Linked DNA regions of Homo sapiens: all the other regions are linked to region 2. The links are contacts of gene promoters, found by promoter capture Hi-C in blood cells and fetal thymus (Javierre and others, 2016). All regions are on one chromosome and are shown on one strand. Each heading gives the region's core, a stretch centred on a gene start or on the middle of the fragment in contact. The rest is flanking DNA. Distances are from core to core; before and after follow the strand shown.

Region 1 (4,936 bases), core at 2,041-4,540, 2.0 Mb before region 2:
ACTTGAGGTTAGGAGTTTGAGACCAGCCTGGCCAACAGGTGAAACCCCGTCTCTACTAAAAATACAAAAAGTAAGTTGGGTACAGTGGCTCACGTCTGTAATCCTAACACTTTGGGAGGTCAAGGCGGGTGGATTGCCTGAGCTCAGGAGTTCAAGACCAGCCTAGACAACATAGTGAAACACCGTCTCTACTAAAAAAATACAAAAAATTAGCCAGGCATGGTGGCGGTGCCTGTAATCCCAGCTACTCGAAAGGCTGAGGTGGGAGAATCGCTTGAACCAGGAGGTAGAGGTTGCAGTGAGCCAAGATAGTGCCACTGCACTCAAGCCTGCACTATAGAGCGAGACTCTGTCTCAAAAAATAAAAATAAAGATATTTACTCTGATTAATTCTCCCATAGTTTTAGCATCCCGACTTGATAGGACTTAATATGTTAATGACAAAAAGAGTAAATGAATTTTTTACTAGCTTTGTGATCCTGGCCAAGTCACTCCATCTTTTGGGGACCTTTGTTGCTTTACCTGTAATATGGACATAATATTTTTTCTGCAGTCCTCATCATATTTTAAGAAGCGAATTAAGTACAGGTAGTCTACTGAAAGTACAAACTGCAAAGAGACTAAGAAGAGTAAAATAGAGGTGTAATCTTCTTGGTTCCCTTGGTCTGGCTAATCAGGTATCTTTCTGGGCACCAAGGTATGTCTTCAAAGATCTAGTCACCAGCAAGCTAGTGTCTTAGAAAAGGGAGATGTTCTCATAAAGATGAGAATGCATCTTTTACCAATGGTTTATCGCAGGATTATTGTTTCAGAAAGACAGAAAGGGCGTGTATACACTATAATGATTACATTTTCATTTCTTCTTACTTCACATACCTCCAAAGAGAAGCTTGAAGACCCTAAAATCATAGTAATATACCTTAAAATATTTAATGTACATGAATTGTTTCAGTTCTTTGAAGGTGTTATAATCTGATTTTGCCCCTATGTTGTTTGTTTCTTGTGTAAATTCATCACTTTTTTTTTTTTTTTTTTTGAGACGGAGTCTCGCTCTCACTCTGTCACCCAGGCTGGAGTGCAGTGAAGCAATCTTGGCTCACTGCAAGCTCCGCCTCCTGGGTTCACGCCATTCTCCTGCCTCAGCCTCCCAAGTAGCTGGGACTACAGGCACCCGCCACCACATCCGGCTAATTTTTTTTGTATTTTTAGTAGAGACAGGGTTTCACCATGTTAGCCAGGATGGTCTTGATCTCCTGACCTTGTGATTCGCACATTTCGGCCTCCCAAAGTGCTGGGATTACAGGTGTGAGTCACCGCGCCTGGCCAAGCTCATCACTTTCTTTGAAAAACCTCCATCTCCCTTCCAAGTCTTGGATCTCCTATTGGACTCTAACGATTAATAAAGCTGCATCATCTTGGGCTGACTTGCTCCAAGGGTTTGTCCACTCAAGTGGATGTAGTTTATCATATAAAGGGATTCCCAGGAGCTTGGTATAAAATTCCTCTCTACTGTAGTTCAGAACATTAAGCTAATTTATGACCTAGTATGAAATTCAAACATTTTTCTTGAAAGTCCTGGAGATGTTTGGAGATATAAAGCTGACAATAATACAAAGAATGAATTGGAATAGTAGGAAGTAGAGAAACTGGTTAGGAAGGTTTTGCATCCACTCACACATAAGAAGGTGGAAAAGAGGTTATCTATGTGAGACGATTCAAAATAGGTAAAATTAGCAGCATGCAGGGATCAGTGACATATAGGAAATATTAGACACAAAAAACTAGGGATGATTCCATCATTTCTAGCTTCGTCATATGAGTAGCTGGTGAGGCAACACCCAAAATATAAAAATATATGTAAGAGAAAGAACAGTTGTGGCATGTGTTTATTTTAATTTAAGGTCAGTGTGAGTGGTTGGGTAAATAAGTTTGAGTTTCTAAATATTGATTTTAAAGTCTAGGTAATTGGTGCACACAGTTAAAATCATACAGCAAATTGTTGGAAATACAAATGAAATTCAGGAATAAAAGTGAGGTTAAAGATAAATAAACGTGGAAAATTAATGAAATTCAAGTAGTAGTTGAAGCCTGGAAGAAGATAAGCTTGCTTAATTAGGTCTAGTAGATAACCCGAGCGACAAAAAAAGCTAAAGAAAGAAAATTCATTCAGGAAGGCATTTAATGTTTTTTGGTTTTTTGAGACTGAGTCTTGCTCTGTCACCTAGGCTGGAGTGCAGTGACGCGATCTGGGCTCACTGCAACCTCTGCCTCCTGGGTTCAAGCAATTCTCCTGCCGAGTAGCTGGGATTACAGGTGCATGCCACCACGCCCGGCTAATTTTTGTATTTTTAGTAGAGACAGGGTTTCACCATGTTGGCCAGGCTGGTCTTGAATTCCTGACCTCAAGCGATCTACCCATCTCGGCCTCCAAAAGTACTGGTATTACAGGCATGAGCCACTGTGGACCACAGGTGAAGAGACACTTTATCCTTTTGGATAAAATAAAGCAGAGAAGAGGGACAGGGCAGAGGTAGCTGCACCTTTAGGAAGGCCTGGCAGAGAATTTCTTACTGACAAGGTACATTTGAGTGAGGACTGGAGGGCTGGGTGGGGGATAACAAGCCACAGGGTATTTGAAGGAGAAAGTTCCAGGCAGTGGGAACAAGTGCAAAGGCCGTGCATAGGGAGTGTGGCTGTAGTGTCTAAGGAATGTCAGGAAGGGTGGTATGGTAGCAACAGAGGGAACTTCACTAGGAGAAGGAAGACACAATGTCAGCAATCGGGTTGGATAAGGCCGTGTGGGCACATCGTAAAGACTTCGGCTTTTATTCTGAATGAGAAAGGAAGCCCTTGGAGAGTTTTGGGAAGGAGTGACATCTAATTTACCTCTTTCACACACTCACTCTGGTTGTATGAGAGCAAAGGTGGAACAGGGGAATCCCTACGAAAGCTCTCACAATGATCCAGGACCTTGACACTAGGTGAAAGATGAGGGTGGCACGGCCCAGAGTGGCAGCAGTGGACATTGGAGGAGGTAATTAAATCCCAGATATATTTTGAAGGAAGAGCCAATAAGATTTGTTGACAAATTGGATGCCAAGTTTGAGAGGAAGAGAAGGAGCATTGATGATCGCTTGTACAGCTGGAAGAATAAAGTTGACATCAGCTGAAATTGGGAAGGATACAAATGTAGTAGCCCTGGGGGGAAGAACAGGGTTAAGTGTAGGACACTGGATACCTATGATACTGTGTGTCAAATACTGCCAGCAGGTTAAGTCTGATGAGGACTGAGAGTAACCATTAGATGTTGGATTATCCTGACAAGGACACATTTGGGGAAGTGGTAGAGATGAGGGTCTGGCTGGAGTAGGTTCAAGAGAGAATGAGGGGGCTGGGCATGGTGGCTCACACCTGTAATCCCAGCACTTTGAGAGGCTGAGGTGGGCGGATCATTGATGTCAGGAGCTTGAGACCAGCCTAGCCAACATGGTGAAACCCGTCCCTACTAAAAATACAAAAATTACCTGGGTGTGGTGGGGCGCACCTGTAATCCCAGTTACTTGGGAGACTGAGGCACGAGAATCACTTGCATCTGGAAGACTGAGGTTGCAGTGATCCATTGCACTCCAGCCTGGGCAACAAAGCAAGACTCTATCTCAAAAAAAAAAAAATGAGACACAAAGAGGGAAGGAATTGGAGATGTGGAATAAAGATGACACTTTTAAGGAGTTTTGCTCTTAAACAGGGTTTGTCAACCTCAAAACTATAGACATTTTGGAGCGGATAATGCTTTATTGTGTGTGTGTGGCGGGGGGAATGGGGGGTGTGTCGTGAGCATTTCAGGATGTTTAGTAGTATCCAAGCCTTCTACCACTAGATACCAGTAGCACCCCTACTCCAGTTGTGACAACCAGAAGTGTCTCCAGACATTGCCAAATGTCTCCTGTGGGAAAAATTGCCCCCAGATGAGAACCACTACTCTAAAAGGAGAGTAGAGGAATAGGGTGGTAGCTGGTGGTACAAGTGGGTCCAGGGAGCTTATTGACATTTTGTTTTTGTTTTTTTTGATATAGGGTCTCACTCTGTTGCCCAGGCTGGAGTGCAGTGGTACCATCACAGTTCACTGCAGCCTCGACCTCCTGGACTCAAGATCCTCCTTCCTCAGCCTAGCAAGTAGTTGGAACTACAGATGCACGCCATCACATCTGGCTAATTTTTTGTAAAGACTAGGTGTCACTATGTTACTCTGGGCTTAAGTGAGCCTCCTGCTTTCAGCCTCCCAAAATGTTTGGATAACAGGTGTGAGCCACCACACTCAGCCTTGTTTTTTCTTAATCTGAAAGAATAATCACATTTGTTTGTCCATAACACTGATCGATTCAGTAGTGAAGAGGGAAATCTGATAATGCAAGACAGAAGCAAGTCTTATTATAGAGGGATCTACTTAGGGACTGTGGGTGGGGAGGGAAAAGCTTCTTCAAGGAAATAATTTTTTCTTTTTTTAGACAAAGTTTCACTCTTTTGCCCAGGCTGGATGCAGTGGTGCGACCTCAGCTCACTGCAACCTTCACCTACTGGGTTCAAGCGATTCTCCCACCTCAGCCTCCCAAAAAGCGGGGAGTACAGACGTGTACCATCACACCCAGCTAATTTTTGTATTTTTAATAGAGACAGAGTTTATCCATGTTGGCCAGGCTGGTCTCGAACTCCTGGACTCAAGTGATCCAGCCACCTCAGCCTCCCAAAGTGCTGGGATTATAGGTGTGAGCCACAGCACCTGGCCTCTGCCTCTTATTTTAGATTACTTATGTCAACCACTTAACTCCAGTCTCTATCATATCTCACACTTGGCTGAATAGCCACCATCAGCATTAATAGTTGTTACAGCTTTCTCAGCACCTGGACTCCTACTACCAATGTTTCTACGAATAAAATG
Region 2 (4,624 bases), core at 1,219-3,718:
AAACCATTATAAAGGACATGGGACCTTCATTAATGTCCCCCACAAGATGGATCCTGGCTGTTTCTGGTTTGGACATTAGTCTATTCATACTCTTCATAATTGAGTATTTAAAAGCAGAAAAGTGGGAGATTTCCTAAAGAATTCAAGTCAACTTCTTTCAAAGTCTTGCTCGATATTGATAGCTCATTGTCTAATGTACTAGGAGCATCTGTTGAGTGATAAATAAGGGAAATCCAGGCCAAATGCAGTAGATTAGAAGTGATTGAGTATATGTGCGAAGCAGAGGACATCAGATTTCTGATTCATCTGTGCATATTATAACTTTTATTTACCCACCATGATAGCTCAATTAAATTACCTGAAAGCAAAGACTTTAAACCAAAGGAAGTCTCACTTTGGCAACTATCATAATTGCCTTAAGAAACAATGTCAAACAACATTACACAGGCAACTCTTAATTAACCATGTGAAGAGTGCCCAGGGATACAGGAATAATTGGTATTCACAAGTAATCCTCAAACTTCATTTCAACTGAGAGTTGAAATGACTAAACCTCTTCCCTCAGCATGGAATATAGCAAAATAAACTGGTTAAATGTTTAACTGTGTATCCCCTGACTACCATTTGGTTAAAATACAAAATAGCAGTCAGTCAACCAAAGAAAGAAGAAAAGCAAATGGGTTGGATAATTCACACAACGGTTAGTAAAATCCTAAAAAGTTACAGTTGCTTATATGTGTTAAAGTTCAAATAAGTGTGATTATTTGAAAAAGTCTTTGTAAGACAGGTTTGCAAACTGCTACATCTTGGCAGGTGTGACTCAGTGATCTCCCTGCACATTAAGTAAACCTGATTTTCATTGCTGAAAGTTGTGTTATGTTAGACTCCTACCATTTATTTCACAAAGATGTTTGCAAAAAGTTACCTCATTGTGTCAATCTCATGTTAACAATTAAACTATGTGTTCACGGAAATAATTTTAATGCAAACAAAATTACAAGATGCCTGGTTACCATTCAGTAGCAAGGGCACTGGATATAGATAAGCTTAGGAAGAATTATGAAAATCGTTGTTAAAGAGGAATATCACTGGAAAAGACTGCCTGTTACATCTACGAAAACAGTATAAAACCTCATTTATGACACTAAAGCACCCATATATTTCTTTCAAATTCATTTCAAGCGATTCAAATTTCTATTCCTGTAAAAGTCGTTTTTGCACCCAATAAAATACTACATATTTTCTTTAATCTTTCAGCTAAATTCTTCAAAGCTCTCTGTAGTGTGGATGTGTACTGAGCCTGAGTCAGGACAGGTTAATCGGCTTGTCAAAGCTCACGAAATGAATCATTGCTGGATTTCTGAAATCTTGAATTAAACCTGGAGAGGATTACAGTTGGACAAACAAATAAGATTTGGCAGATTTTGGAGTTTCCTTGGTATCTTTAAGAACTGAACAGATAATCATCTCTTTCTTACCTCCCTGAATAAAGGAGTTACATGTCTTTTTCTCATGAACCCTCCCCGTCTCCCTAGTAGGAATTAATCTATATAACTAGAGGAAAGAAGTTCTAAAGCCTTACACAAGAAATAGTGGACCTAATTATCCACACATTGTTATTCAATTTTTCTGGTACTTCCGATAAAAATCGCTAATCACCATCTGCTTTATTCCTAATATCTCTGAGCTGTGTAGCTCACCAGATCATTATTTATTTGCTCAAGAAAAAAAAGCAACTATACTATTAGTATTTATTATTAAGTAGTCAAACTTGGAACTACTCAGGAAGATAATGCTATCAAAACTAAGCATTTAAGCATTAACTGGACCATCGAACAGGATCGTGGGTTGGGTATTCTGAGCTTCAGCTCCTTAAAGTCCAATGGCAGAGGTCTTTCCCTAGTCTCCTAACGTTCCTCCGTTGAATTTATTGGGACGGCTTTCTGAAAGATTGAGGGCTTATTTAGGAAACCCATTATTTGAAAGGAGGGTTGAAGCAATTTGTTGTGCTGTCTTAACATAAAAAGCAACCCTCCATCCAAAATGTACTGAGTGGTTACTAAGTATGAGGCCTTGGAAGGTCTCCCAACTCTTCTAACAGGTACAGGACACCCTGGGCTACTAAGGGCGAGAAATTCAGTGAGTGGCTCTCAGGAAGACTGTGGTGGCAAAAACAGCACCTTGAAGTCCAACAGAGGCTCCTCCGGAGTGGCCCCAAGGCTCAAAAGGCGCCGCCAGTGGGAGGCCCTCGCCTTCGTCCCAACACCCATTACCCGCCAGCGCAGCGGGCCGCGCCTCCACGGGAAGGATACGTTCCAGGTAGTAGGCGCCCTCAGCCGCCACCGCGTCCGCCGTGTCCCTCGCGTCCCCGGCTGCCGTCAAACCCATGCCCAACGCCTCTTCCAGGACCCTCACGGCGGAGCTGGGCATCCCTCGCTGAGCAGCCATCTCTGGCGCTTCGGGCCCCCACCCCCAGCAGGCCCACAGCCGTCCCTAAGGGCAACAGCGAAGACGCTACCCAACGGCCCCCGGGAGCTCTCGCGAGATTCCGGCATCTCTCACCCCGCCCCACGGACCAGCCCCGGGCACGTAAGGGTTACCGGGAGTCCAGGGAGCTGTCGCCCTCCCGCGCCTCCCAGTTACCGTGGCAACGATGTTGCCTAGTTAACGCGAGAGCTCGGGCGCAGCTCTGGGAGCGGACAAGATACAGTAAACAATTGGCTTGCATTGCACCTTCCTACCCAAGCAGCTTGGTTTTCTTTCGCTTTGACCCTGTAATTTCTTTCCCACTTCGTTGTCGTCTCTGAATTACCTTTCTCTTGATTCTTGCCCATTAGCATCCTCCAATTTCAGATGTTTGTAGATCCCCAAGTGTTCCCAGGGAAAACTACTAGAAAAGGTGAGTTCTCAACACCTGGAATTTTTTAAAAAATGAAAAAATAAAGTTCTAGAAATCATAATAGAAAGACTGACCCAGGGGAGCTACCAGACGCTCCTCAGATGCTTAGCAATGAAGAACTATGGTGTTCAGCTTTGTCAATTCCTTTCTTGTGATCTTTAATGCATTTAGCTGGACATCTGTTTTGAGTTTGGTTCCATATACTAAGACTTGGAATAGTATTTGTAGCATTGATTCTCGCCAAGGTAAAAACAGTTGCATAAAAATTATGAGCTACAAATTTGGTCCTGACAAATGTATGCAGTTGACACTTGCCCCATCATGTATAGTCTTATTGCTGAGAGGATCTTCCTCAGGTTATATCGCGTATGTATCAGAAGCAAATTCAAGGCCCTTTTCTTTGCAAATATTTTTTTTTCCCTTAACTTTTATTTTAGGTTCAGGGGTACAAGTGCAGGTAAGCTCATGTCGCAGGGGTTTGGTATATAACTTATTTCGTCACCCAGGTACTAAGTGTAGTACCCAATAGTTATTTTTTCTGATCTTCTCCCTCCTCCCACTCTCCTCCTCAAGTAGGCCCCAGTGTCTGTTGTTCCTTCTTTGTGTCCATTTGTTCTCATTATTTAGCTCCCACTTACAACTAAGAACATGCAGTATTTGGTTTTCTGTTCCTGCATTAGTTTGCTAAGGATAATGGCCTCCAGCTGCATTCATGTCCCTGAGAGGACATGATCTCATTCTTCTGTGGCTGCATAGTATTCCATGGTATATGTGTACCACATTTTCTTTATCCAGTCCGTTGATGGGCATTTAGGTTGAATCCATGTCTTTATCATGAATATCAATGAACACGCATGTACATGTGTTTTTATGGTAGAACAATTTCTGTTTCTTTGGGTATATACCCAGTAATGGGATTGCTAGGGCAAATGGTATTATTTTTCATTCTACATTTCTTGGTGAAAACTGGAAGCCAGTGATCCTATAAAAGCTCCCATTTATTACCAAAAGGTAGCAGTAACTTCCTAAGGAGGTGTTTGAGAGTACGTGTGTCAGAGCCAGAGAGACAGCTTTCAGAGCCTGCTTCCATCACTTACTAGCTATGACACATTGGGCAAACTACTACTTAATGCCTCTAGGCCCCAGTTTCATCATTTGTAGAACAAAGACAACAATATTACCTACCTCAAAGTGCTGTTGCAAGGGGTAAAGCAACAAAAAGCATTAAGAACTTACTGGGAACATAGAAGACACTAAGAAATGTTAGCTGTTATTTCTATTAAATGTGTTTGATATTGTTTTATTTTTTAGAATAATCAAGGGTCACAGATATAATAGTCGGGTAATTCATTCCTGGTACCTATTCTTTTACTACCCTACTCTTTGTCCTTGACTTCTCACATCAGACATTTCCTGAGTACTCATTAAATGCAAGGAACAATTACAGGAGGCTGAAAATACAGAAGAATTCTGACATTGGAGAATCCACTGCTTTTACAGAAAGCTTTCTCTTTATTTCAGAAGAAGGCATTACCTTATCTCTCAAGGTTGTTTCCTATAAATCCAGCCTTAACAAATGACCTGGGTAAGGAGTGGTCAAGGCCTTACATTTTTGGCATATCCAGCAAGACATGTAGGAACACAAAAGACATGAAGGATGGTCTCTCAGAGCGATTACTGTTTACTTTTATTTGTTTTTGTTCGTTACAATGGCTCATCTATTTC
Region 3 (4,602 bases), core at 1,822-4,321, 2.0 Mb before region 2:
AGCTGAAATAAATAGGAATTTTCTTCTTTCCAATCATAAGCAAACCAGTCATTAAAATCTCAGACACATACACACACTCACACAACCCCATCTTTGTTCTTGCTTCAATTTTGTTTTAGATACAATCGCAACCATACACTCTGTAATAACATCACTGCCAAATACTCAAACCACATGAAAAGGCAAAGTGCCTTTTCTATTGTGGAAATAAGCCCATGTTGGGGAGAAATCCTGGGAATCTCGCACAAGAAACGCTTATTTACGTGTCCAGGGCCGCCTCTGCCATGTTTACCACAAATAATACTTTAAACTTCAAAAGAAACGCACACACAGTCTAAGGAACAATGAAGGCTTTTATATAGTCCAATGAAAATGCTTTGGAAAATGAAAAGTATAAGAACTGACAGTACATGGGGATTTTTTTGTCTCAGAATCTTAATGGAGAATATAAACTATAAGCAGGAAATAGGTCAGATATAACAGCAGACAAATCAGTTTCAAGAAGTCCTACAAGGAAAAATTTGTGCAAAATGTCAGGTTGCTAATTATTCATTCAGTAAACATTTAGGGAATGTGCCAAGCAGTCTTCTAAGCCCTGGGGATTCAGCGACAAACAAAAACAGATGCAGCTTCTGCTCTCAAAAGCTGACATCCTGGCTGGGCGCTGTGGCTCATGCCTGTAATCCCAGCACTTTGGGAGGCCGAGGCAGGCAGATCACCTGAGGTCAGGAGTTCAAAACCAGCCTGGCCAACGTGGTGAAACCCTATCTCTACTAAAAATACAAAATTAGCCAGGTGTGGTGGCAGGCGCCTGTAGTCCCAGCTACTTGAGAGGCCGAGGCAGGAGAATCACTTCAACCCGGGAGGTGGAGTTTGCAGCGAGCCAAGATCGCACCACTGCACTCCAGCCTGGGCGAAAAGAGTGAAACTCTATCTCAAAAAAAAAAAAAAAAGGAAGCTGCCATCCTAATGGGGGAAGACAATTTGAACAGATTGAATAGAAACACATGCAGCAAAACAGGGTGATGGGATGAAAGCATGATGGGCTGCTACTTTGGTCTAAGCGGTCAAGGAAGGCTTCTCTGAGGAGGTGAGGCCTGAATAACAAGAAACCAGGACGGTGAAGGGCAGAGGGAAGAATTCTGGGTGAAGGGGACAAGGAGCCAGAGGCGCTGGAGTGGAAAGAGCTGGGCCCACTTGGAGGCACAGGGCGGAGGGGCTAGCAGCAGGCGCAGGGAGAGCTGCTGAGGGGGCAGATAGGAGGCAGGCAGGCAGCACAGGGTTTGTGGGGCAGGGCAAAGTGCTTAAGAAAAGCCAAGGAATGGCTTTAAGTAGGGTCTGACATCATCCGATTTCCATTTTTAAAAGATTACTGTGCTGTGAAGCCCAGAAAGGCCGAGAGAAAACAAATTACTTAGATTACTTCAGCCTACAGGACTTCACAGGGTGTCTGTGGGGATTTGGGAAGTGTTAGTGTCAAAGTGTATCTGAGATCTGAGGCCAGGTGTGGTGGCTCACGCCTGTAATCCCAGCACTCTGGGAGGCTGAGATAGGCAGATAACTTGAGGTCAGGAGTTTGAGACCAGCCTGGCCAACATGGTGAAACCCCATCTCTACTAAAAACAGAAAAACTAGCCAGGCATTGTGGTGCGCACCTGTAATCCCAGCTACTCAGGAGGCTGAGGCAGGAGAATCGCTTGAACCAGAGATTGCGCCACTGCACTCCAGCCTGGGTGACAGAGCGAGACTCCGTTGTCTTAATTTAAAAAAAAAAAAAAAAAATCTATCTGAGGCAGAACAATAGAACGCGGCAAACGTGAAGAAACTTTCAGATTCTCCTCCCACCTGGCACGCTGCTCCCCTCCCCCATCGCTCTCTCAGCTGATGACAGGGAAAGGAAGCCCAGGCTGCACCCCCTCACCAAATGCTGACCGCCCCAGGCAGGAAGGAGGCTGCCCTTGCTCTCAGCCAAGGCCAGCTGCACCGGTAGTGCTTGGGATTCCAAGGCCTCCATGCCTGGGACTCTCACCTCTGTCCCTGCCCCTACTCTCCCTTGTACCAGAGCAGGACAGGCTCTCACAGCCTACCTTTGGAACAGAACAGGACACACATTTAAAAACCCTCTCTAAACTCTACAAACCCAGAGAAAGTCCTACTTTCTTGTTCCAAGAAACCTCTTTATCGTTGTTAGTTCTTAACATCACATTTCTGCTTTGGCCTACTTCAATTGGGCTTCTAGATCCAATATTCCAAGGCAACGGCTTCTTACAATATGTGCAAAACAAACAGTCCCTTTTCTGTTCTCAAATGCATTCTAAAAGGTTGGAATTTCACAACTTTTCTTCTGCTGGTTCCTCCACAGTACACCTACCAAGCCTTTACCCCAAGGCTTTCTTGACCCTCTTCTCTATAAAATCCAGGCCATCCCATCCTGTCTCATGTCTTCAAAAAGATCTACGTGGCAGAGACATTCCAATCTCCATCTCCCCCATGACATCTTTTCAGAACTCCAGACTACTCAACTTCTGTGCTCTTCAGTCCAAATGGCGTCTCAAACCAGATGGTTATCAGATGGCTACAGGAGGCATTACGGAATGTATCATCTTCTGAATGTGAACCACATCAGATGCAATACAGAGAAACACACACTCTCCAGGCACAGCAAACCATGCCACAGAACGCTCGGGCTTTACCTGTGATGGGAAGCTTGGGCTGCAGTGTGTACAGCTGGGCAGGGGTCTGATGTGGGTTCATTCCATATCTCAAGGGCATCTGAGATACGCCTTTGCTGTACTGTTTCCTGAAATAATCTGAAATTGCTTCATCATATTGTGCCGTATGAGTGAATGCCTACAAAAAGCGTAAGTTTTGTGAGACACGAGCAGCACTTTCCAAAGTGGGGACAAGATGGTTTTCTACGTCCACAGCAAACAACATCTCCTCACTATTCAGTGCTATGTGGTGGCTGCACAACACGATGACACCATGAATGACAGCAAAGCACTGAATGGCCCAACAAATTACCCCTTTCCAATTCTTTTTCAATCTTTTTTTTTTTTTTTGAGACAAAGTCTCACTCTGCTGCCCAGGCTAGAGTGCAGTGGTGTGATGTCAGCTTACTGCAACTTCCACCTCCTGGGTTCAAGCGATTCTCCTGCCTCAGTCTCCCGAGTAGCTGGGATTACAGGCGTACCACACCACACCACACTCGGCTAATTTTTGTATTTTCAGTAGAGACAGGGTTTCACCACATTGGCCAGGCTGGTCTCAAACTCCTGACCTCAGGTGATCCGCCCGCCTCGGCCTCCCAAAGTGCTAGGATTACAGGCGTGAGCCACCGCGCCCAGCTCTCTTTCAATCTTTTTGACAGAACACCTCTGTAATAGCTGGTTTCTCCATTTTTAACAAAAGGATAGCAGCTCCAAGCAAAGCTTTGGTAGGTAATGCAATCTACCAAGAACTGAATACTGCTTGGTCTGGCAAACACTGCACTCCATGGATGTAACTTACAATATCATGAAAGTGCATCCCACCTTCAAGGCTAACTGGCGTCTAGTCTCCAAGGAGGTGTCCTTACTCTCGGAGCTCTGCATCTCCGTGGACACCACCACATAGTCCTCTGGTTCACACACCACTGTCACTCGAGCGTGGTTTTTGGCTGCAGCTCTCAGTAAGGTTACTCCACCTTTGAAGAACAAAAGACTTATTGATTTTTGTATGTCCCTATCAGCTTATGAACCGCTTTTAAATAAAGTCATTGTGCATGTACTTCCATTTTAATTCCTGACTTAAAAATCAGGAAAATAAGCTGGGCGCAGTGGCTCATGCCTGGAATCCCAGCACTTTGGGAGGCTGAGGCAGGTGGATCACCTGAGGTCAGGAGTTCGAGACCACTCTGGCCAACATGGCGAAATTCCATCTCTATAAAAAATACAAAAAAAATTAGCCAGGCGTGGTGGTGTGCACCTGTAATCCCAGCTACTCAGGAGGCTGAGGCAAGAGAATCACTTGAGCCCAGGAGGCAGAGGTTGCAGTCAGCCAAAACTGTGCCACTGTACTCCAGCCTGGGTGACACAGCAAGACTTCATCTCAAAAAAATAAAAATAAAATAAATAAATAAATAAATCAGGAAAATAACCCAGATGCATCTCTGCATACAAAAAAAGCTTAGAAAATATAAATGAAAAAAAGAAAATATAAATGAATTATAGTAATCCCAAAACACAATCCAGAAGTAGCTATTTTCTTTCTATTTCCTCAGTAATAAAATTCAAAATGAAATCTCACTAAAATTTAAATAATCCTCTCCTCTCAGTCTTCTAAAATGGTTTTTCTGACTTACCAATGTCAATTTGCTCCACAGCCTCCTCAACAGTTACACCTGGAGAAGCCACTGTCTTTACAAAGGGATAGAGATTGCAGGCAACAACTCTATAAAACAAAGACGAATCTGGCTGTCATTAAAAAGTCCACTCATGTGGTTTACAGCTATCTAGGAAAAAAACAAGTCAGTACTATTAACGTAAACAAAAGCCATAGAGAACTAATATATAAACTGTGAGCCTGACATTTTAGAATTCTAACGAGTGTGTTAAAAAGTCA

The links. Contacts are between HindIII fragments. The CHiCAGO score rates a contact against its expected background, and 5 or more counts as called.
Region 1: a contact is called between a fragment that was not itself captured here and the fragment with the promoter of SPAG16 in region 2, in 11 of 17 cell types (naive CD8 T cells, total CD8 T cells, total CD4 T cells and 8 more). The highest score is 32.2, in naive CD8 T cells.
Region 3: a contact is called between a fragment that was not itself captured here and the fragment with the promoter of SPAG16 in region 2, in 8 of 17 cell types (naive CD8 T cells, total CD8 T cells, activated CD4 T cells and 5 more). The highest score is 20.5, in naive CD8 T cells.

What each region holds. Positions count from the first base shown.
Region 1 is chr2:215,303,677-215,308,612 of GRCh38, reverse strand. LOC124907975 (a long non-coding RNA gene) reads left to right here. Exons shown (of 2, transcript XR_007088075.1): 2 at 4,074-4,936. Among named protein-coding and RNA genes, the nearest start is that of ATIC, 5.9 kb to the left of the region's middle. The HindIII fragment of the contact is 2,369 bases long and covers 2,106-4,474 here.
Region 2 is chr2:213,282,308-213,286,931 of GRCh38, reverse strand. It overlaps SPAG16 (sperm associated antigen 16), which reads right to left and starts at 2,468. Exons shown (of 16, transcript NM_024532.5): 1 at 2,313-2,468. The coding sequence starts at 2,448. SPAG16-DT (SPAG16 divergent transcript) reads left to right here and starts at 2,723. Exons shown (of 3, transcript NR_161186.1): 1 at 2,723-2,899. RefSeq lists enhancers at 2,066-2,145, 2,216-2,265, 2,306-2,435. The HindIII fragment of the contact is 3,357 bases long and covers 1,049-4,405 here.
Region 3 is chr2:215,325,070-215,329,671 of GRCh38, reverse strand. ATIC (5-aminoimidazole-4-carboxamide ribonucleotide formyltransferase/IMP cyclohydrolase) reads right to left here. Exons shown (of 16, transcript NM_004044.7): 5 at 4,343-4,431; 6 at 3,534-3,685; 7 at 2,694-2,850. Among named protein-coding and RNA genes, the nearest start is that of ATIC, 15 kb to the right of the region's middle. The HindIII fragment of the contact is 725 bases long and covers 2,709-3,433 here.